Regions from separate parts of the Homo sapiens genome. Here region 1 is linked to region 2. The links are contacts of gene promoters, found by promoter capture Hi-C in human tissues and cell types (Jung and others, 2019). All regions are on one chromosome and are shown on one strand. Each heading gives the region's core, a stretch centred on a gene start or on the middle of the fragment in contact. The rest is flanking DNA. Distances are from core to core; before and after follow the strand shown.

Region 1 (2,944 bases), core at 1-2,500, 150 kb after region 2:
AAGGGGGTACTGGGGGTTTGGGATGTAGAGGGCACTCAGGGGCTCTGCATTTGCTGCAATGCCTATACTTACCAGCAGAGGGCAGTGACGGACAGGCGCTTGGCTTTGTCATTTTGGAACTTCCAGAGCGGCAGCAGGGTACCCACCTGGTCCCGGTATTCATCAGCAGCATCGTCATAGTACTTAAAATCTTAAACACACACAGGCAGAGTCAGCCCTGGGACTGCCGCTTTATGGCAAACCCAGGTCCACCACTTACTGTCTGTACCTCCTTGGGCAAAACAATGAGCCTCTGTTTTAGAGTGGGAATAATACTACTACCTATCTCAGAGTTCTGTTGTGAGGATATATGAATTGAGTTAATATATGCAAAGAGCTTAGAAAAATGCCTGGCACATAGTAAGCTCTATGTGTTAGCCATTGTTACTGTCGTTGTTGTTGGAGGTACATTACAATACACCGGCCATGTCTACATGGATAAAATCCCAGGTTCGCAGCCCTTGTTCCCATGTGTTTCCCTAGCATTTCAGGAGGCTCTGTTTGGAGGAGCCAAATTTCAAGGGTTCAGCTGCCAAGGGCTGATTAATAGTTCCATTAATTCTGCCTCCTAAATCCCTAAAATGCAGCCCATTTTCATATCCACAGCCAAGTCTCCCTATAATGAAGCTGCCTAGATCCCCCATGGGTTCTCTGAACCCAACTTCATCTCCTGCCCACAAAATTGTCTCTGCCTTCCACTTTCTTTAAGTTAGATAGATGCCCCATCCTCCCACTTGTCTAAACCAGAAATGAGTAATCCTTGACTGATCTGTTTCCATAATTTCTCATATTTTTCTTCTATCTTTTTAATTCATTCGCTTCTCTCCAAACCCATAGCCCCTGCCCAGGTTCAGGCCCCAACATCCATCACCTGTATTATGACAACATCCCTCTAACTGGTCTCCTACCTCCAGTAACTCCTTCTCCAACCCTTGTTTCACAGAACAACCAGTGTGAGTACAAACAAGGCACCTCACGACACCCCTTTCCTCACTCCACTGAAACCCCCTCAATGGCTCTCCTTGCAGAGGAGATTAAACCAAGAGGAGATCCACGTTATTTCTAGTCAGCTGTCCGTGTCCCCTCCATATCAAATCATGCCAATGAGTCCAGTTGTCTCCTGTTTTGGGTGTTTCTACATCGTTTTCCATGTCTAAGATGCCCTGTTCTTCCTGGCAAACTCCTACTCACTCCAGATCCAGATCAAACTCTTTCTCATCTGTAAGGCCTTCATTTTCTTTTGAGCAGAGTTAATTTCTTCCTCTGTTCCAGCCCTGCCTCTCCTCTACTGAAACATCTGTCACACTAGATTGCCTCTATCCTTTTGCCTGTTCTCCCCCACCAGACAATATCTGGAGAGCAGGACACACATATATTCTCTGGGTCCCCAGTGCCTAGCACAGGGCCAGCCACAAAACAGACAACCAACAACTGTTTAAAGAATGCAGTGAAATTCATTAACAGAAGTGAAGTAGTTCTTGATCTTCTTTAGACAAAGGGTGACCAATTAGAAAATGAATCCTGTCATTCAGTGAAGCCAAGAACATGCCCAGGCCTGACATCTCCTATAGTGCCCATACCTTGAGGTTGTGGGACTTCACTCAAACCTCAAAAATGTCTCAGAACAAAAAAGATTCAAGTGGTCAGAGAGGCGTGAGCCTTGATTACATCAGAGATTACCCCGCTTGGGTTATCTTTGAAAATACTTCAATTCAGAGCAGAGATTAATTGGTAACACTTCTCTATTTTCATGTCTCCTTCATGATTACACTTTCCCAAAGGGAAAGGAGTATGCAATTAAAAAAATCAAAGTTCAATACATTTTTATGTGACTGTGTTCTTATAAATGAAAGTGGTTCACCAAGGCCAATTTCTCCATGGATATTAATCAGGTTTGCAGCCCTTTGGTGGGCCACTTGCAGAGGCTGGGTTTCAAGAAGCCACGCTGTGTGAGTGACAAACTCATTCACAGCTGTTGTGTACTTTGACAGCTTTGAAAAGCACTCAAGGTCGTTTTCCAGCCTGAATGATAATGAGGGGGCTTGTTTAGGTGGCTGGTTTTGGCAGCCCTGGTTTCTGTGTCCCATGGGTGAGCAATGAGCATCAAGTCACCAAGAAGAGCCCTAGGCTGTCAGCAAAGGAGACCAGCCAGCATCGAGGAGCTGCCAACTCTGGGAAGGCAGCTGCTCCAAATAAATGCACAACCTCTTAGGGAAATACAAGCCACTTGGGAATGTGCTGTTCATGCCATGGGAAGGATTCTGTTTCCCTGACACTGTCAGACACCAGAATTTCCCAGGCCCCCAGGATTTAAGCATTTCTGAATCAATCTCTTTCTTCAACTCATCACTAATTAATCACCAGGATAGATCTATTGAGTGTGTTTATTTGAAATGTCTCTTCCGGCTCAGTGGCTTTGCAGCCTAGCGGCGAAGTGCTTAGGTGATGGATCCAAGGGGCCTGTGTTCGAGTTCTGATTCTGCCACTCACACTTCACACTAGCTGTGACTTTGAAAAAGTGGCAACATCCCAGCCTGAGTTTCTCATCTATAAAATGGAGATAATAATGGTATTCACCTCACAGTGTGGCTGTCAGGAACAAACAAAATAATAACATGTAAATTGCATAGCACAATGCCTGACACACAGGCTACTCCCAGTGAATGCTGGAGCTTGTTTCTCACTATTATAACTGTTCCCTTTTCTCCATTCCTTAAGACACAGGCTAGGTCAGGTGTGGTAAGGCCCATTCCACCCCACATTTGAGCCTCACCTCCACCTCTGCCCTATATTCTACACAATCACATCCTCCTCCAGCCTTGCTCTCATCGGGCTGTGTCCCTGCCTAGAAAGTTTCAGTTCTCTGAACTGTCTGCAGAGATAGGTCACATTCCTTGCATGATAT
Region 2 (2,700 bases), core at 101-2,600:
TCCTCACCAAATGTTTCCTTAGGGTACAGCTGGCTGTGCTTCCAGGGGAAGGGAGGCCCCAGGTTGGGGGATATAAGGAGAGGCCAAAGAGTCCAGTTCCCCCTCCCCTGGAAGTTCCAGCCATTTCTCACCTCCCCCTCCATTCTTTGGGCCCCAGCACCAGGAAATGCCTTTGGTCCCTTGGTGCCAGATACACAAGACCCACAGTTACCCTCAGACTCATACACTCTCACATGCGGTCACTCACAGTCACACGGGCACAGCCACACCGCCTCAGACTCAGACACACTTACACATATTCATACACTCACGCAGTCACACACGCACACAGCCCCTACCAGGGCTCACAGCACCGCCTAAAAGCAACTCTTCATCATGGTCTAAGCCCCCTCTCTCAGGGAGCTCTTAGCCGGGGCAGACCCGCATCTCATCACTGTTACAGGCCCCCAACTAGCCAGAGATCAAGATCAGCAGGGAAGGCAGGCATAGGGGCACAGAGAGAGACAGAGAGAAAGGAAAGGCAAAACTGGAAATGCACCCACACAGAGAGACCAGGGGAACAAAGCTGTGAAGAAACACACAGAGGTATCTCTAGTAAGACAGCAATAGGGACAGAAAACGGCACGTAAGGGAAACTGAGCCAAGCAGGGAAACAGAAAATAAGGAGCAGTAGACCTGATGCTGGGGATTCTTGAGCAGAGGAAGGAGGGGAAGCCACGTGTGTTGTGGGTGTGTCTGTCAATGCTGGACACTTAAGAGAAAGGTCAGTCCCATGGGCTCTTGAGGTAGGTCCCCCAATACATGAATACAGCTGTACTCCCACACGGTTTAAGTTAGGACCCAGGACACACACATAGTCACAAACCTCACTTTTGCTCTGCTACTGCTGAAGTCACACATTGGCACACACAAAGCCAGCCACCCACTCTCACGCTGGCAGACATGGTCTCAAACCCCACAGAGACCTTCCCAAAACACATTCCCTCATGTGGTCACAGTCCCTCTCACACAAACACACAACCCAGTCCCACCAAAAATGTGCATTGACAGATACACACATAATCCCACACTTGCACAGCCACATGCACCTCCAGCTCCATGCACACTGACACACGCAGTCACATTAGCTGACAGCTGCACCAAGTGACACTCAGAATCGCACACAATGATACTGTCACACAGACACAGCCTCACAGGCACATACACACTGACAGTCGTTAGTCACTCCCGGCCTTTCAGATCATACATCACCCTGCCCCGCCCACTCCTGACAAGACTTTGGCGTCTACACCAGGCCTCACCTTCCGCGGCCGCTGCCGCCAGCGCCCTCTGCCCTCGCCCTCGCCCTCTGCCCCGGCCTCTACTCCCTCCCGCCCTGGGCCCCCGCAGCGGGGGTGGCTCCGCCCAGGCGCCAATGGAAGGAGAGGAGTGAAATAGGGGGGCTCCTGGCCCATTGGAGACTCCAACTGCCAATCACCTCCACCCCCACCTCCGCCGGACACTTCCTGTCCCGTCCCGGACTGAAGAGGCTGCTTGGGACAGAGTCTGGAGCTGGATTCCTGGGTCTCCGCCTGAAGGCCTATCCACCCTGGAACAGCAGGACTGGAAACAAGAGCCACTGGCCAGGTGATTGGAGAAGCTGAAGGTGCCCCTGACTCCAGATAAGATAAAGAAGAAGGAGGGCTGTGTAGGGCAGTGGTTCTCAAACTTTGCTGGATATTGTGGTTTGAAAACTGCAAAACCCCACCCCATACCAATTAAATCAGAGTCTCTGGAGGTTGGACCTAGGCACCAGTATTGTTTAAAACTTCCCAGATGATTCCAAAATGCAGCCAAATCAGAGGTGTAAGGTGTGTCGGGTATATGTATGCCTCAAGAAACCAGCCACCCACTCAGGGTTCTCATCTACTCCCCAGTCATGGGAAGCTCGAGGGAAATGTGTGCATACTATGTCTATCAGATCTTCCAGACCAGGGCAACACTCCCAAGTTCCAGGTACTTCCCCTCCAGGATCTCAGGGAAGAAAAACCCTGGTCTGGAAGGCAGGCAGCCAAGTTTCTCCTGGGCCAGATTCAGTCACTGTCCAGCCTTAGTGTGATTTCCCCACCCACAGGCTTGGTTCCCCTGGGGAAAGAACGAAGGCAAAAACCATTCTGGCCATCCCTGCATCATTCACAATGCCTGCCTTCGCCTTAAAATTTGGAGGACACCAGTGGCATCAGGTCTCCTGTGTTGCATAGACTGTTGTTCCCACAGCGTTGCCAGGGAAACAGGTCCAGAGGGGACTGAATAGACCCCAGGTCACTCTGAGAGCCATACCTTCCTTCCAGGCCCTAGGGTTCCTAACTCTAGCAGTCCCTTCTCTGTCAGAGCTGTTTCTGTTTGTGCAATGATTGGGGCACAAGGGCAGCAGAAGTATATGGTGCCCGCACATGTGAGAGTCTGGAGGAGCCAAGGACACAAAGCCACGTACACGCTCCCTACACACTCCCTACCCGCCCCTTTAGCCCCTGTGGGCTGGAGCAGAGCCAAGCTGCAGCCACTCACAAAGCCAGGGTTCTGGCCAGCAGCCCAGGATCTGGCCACTGACCACTGGGATCAGGATCCAGCTCACCCGCTCCCCATCAAACCCTCAGGCCCAGGCTTGGAGCTGACACCCTAGGGGTGGTGGCAAAGGGGGCTCTGGCCTTCCCAAAGCCT

Evidence for each region. The method cuts DNA at HindIII sites, captures the fragments that hold promoters and counts their contacts. A contact is called where the count stands out against the background at its distance.
Region 1: a contact is called between a fragment that was not itself captured here and the fragment with the promoter of IL11RA in region 2, in 2 of the 25 tissues and cell types used here (bladder and dorsolateral prefrontal cortex).

Annotation. Positions count from the first base shown.
Region 1 is chr9:34,497,968-34,500,911 of GRCh38, reverse strand. It overlaps DNAI1 (dynein axonemal intermediate chain 1), which reads right to left. Exons shown (of 20, transcript NM_012144.4): 11 at 73-190. Among named protein-coding and RNA genes, the nearest start is that of ENHO, 24 kb to the left of the region's middle. The HindIII fragment of the contact is 6,320 bases long and covers 1-2,944 here.
Region 2 is chr9:34,650,835-34,653,534 of GRCh38, reverse strand. IL11RA (interleukin 11 receptor subunit alpha) reads right to left here and starts at 1,350. Exons shown (of 13, transcript NM_001142784.3): 1 at 1,302-1,350. GALT (galactose-1-phosphate uridylyltransferase) reads right to left here. Exons shown (of 11, transcript NM_000155.4): 11 at 2,500-2,700. RefSeq lists a silencer at 1,295-1,394. The HindIII fragment of the contact is 13,062 bases long and covers 1-2,700 here.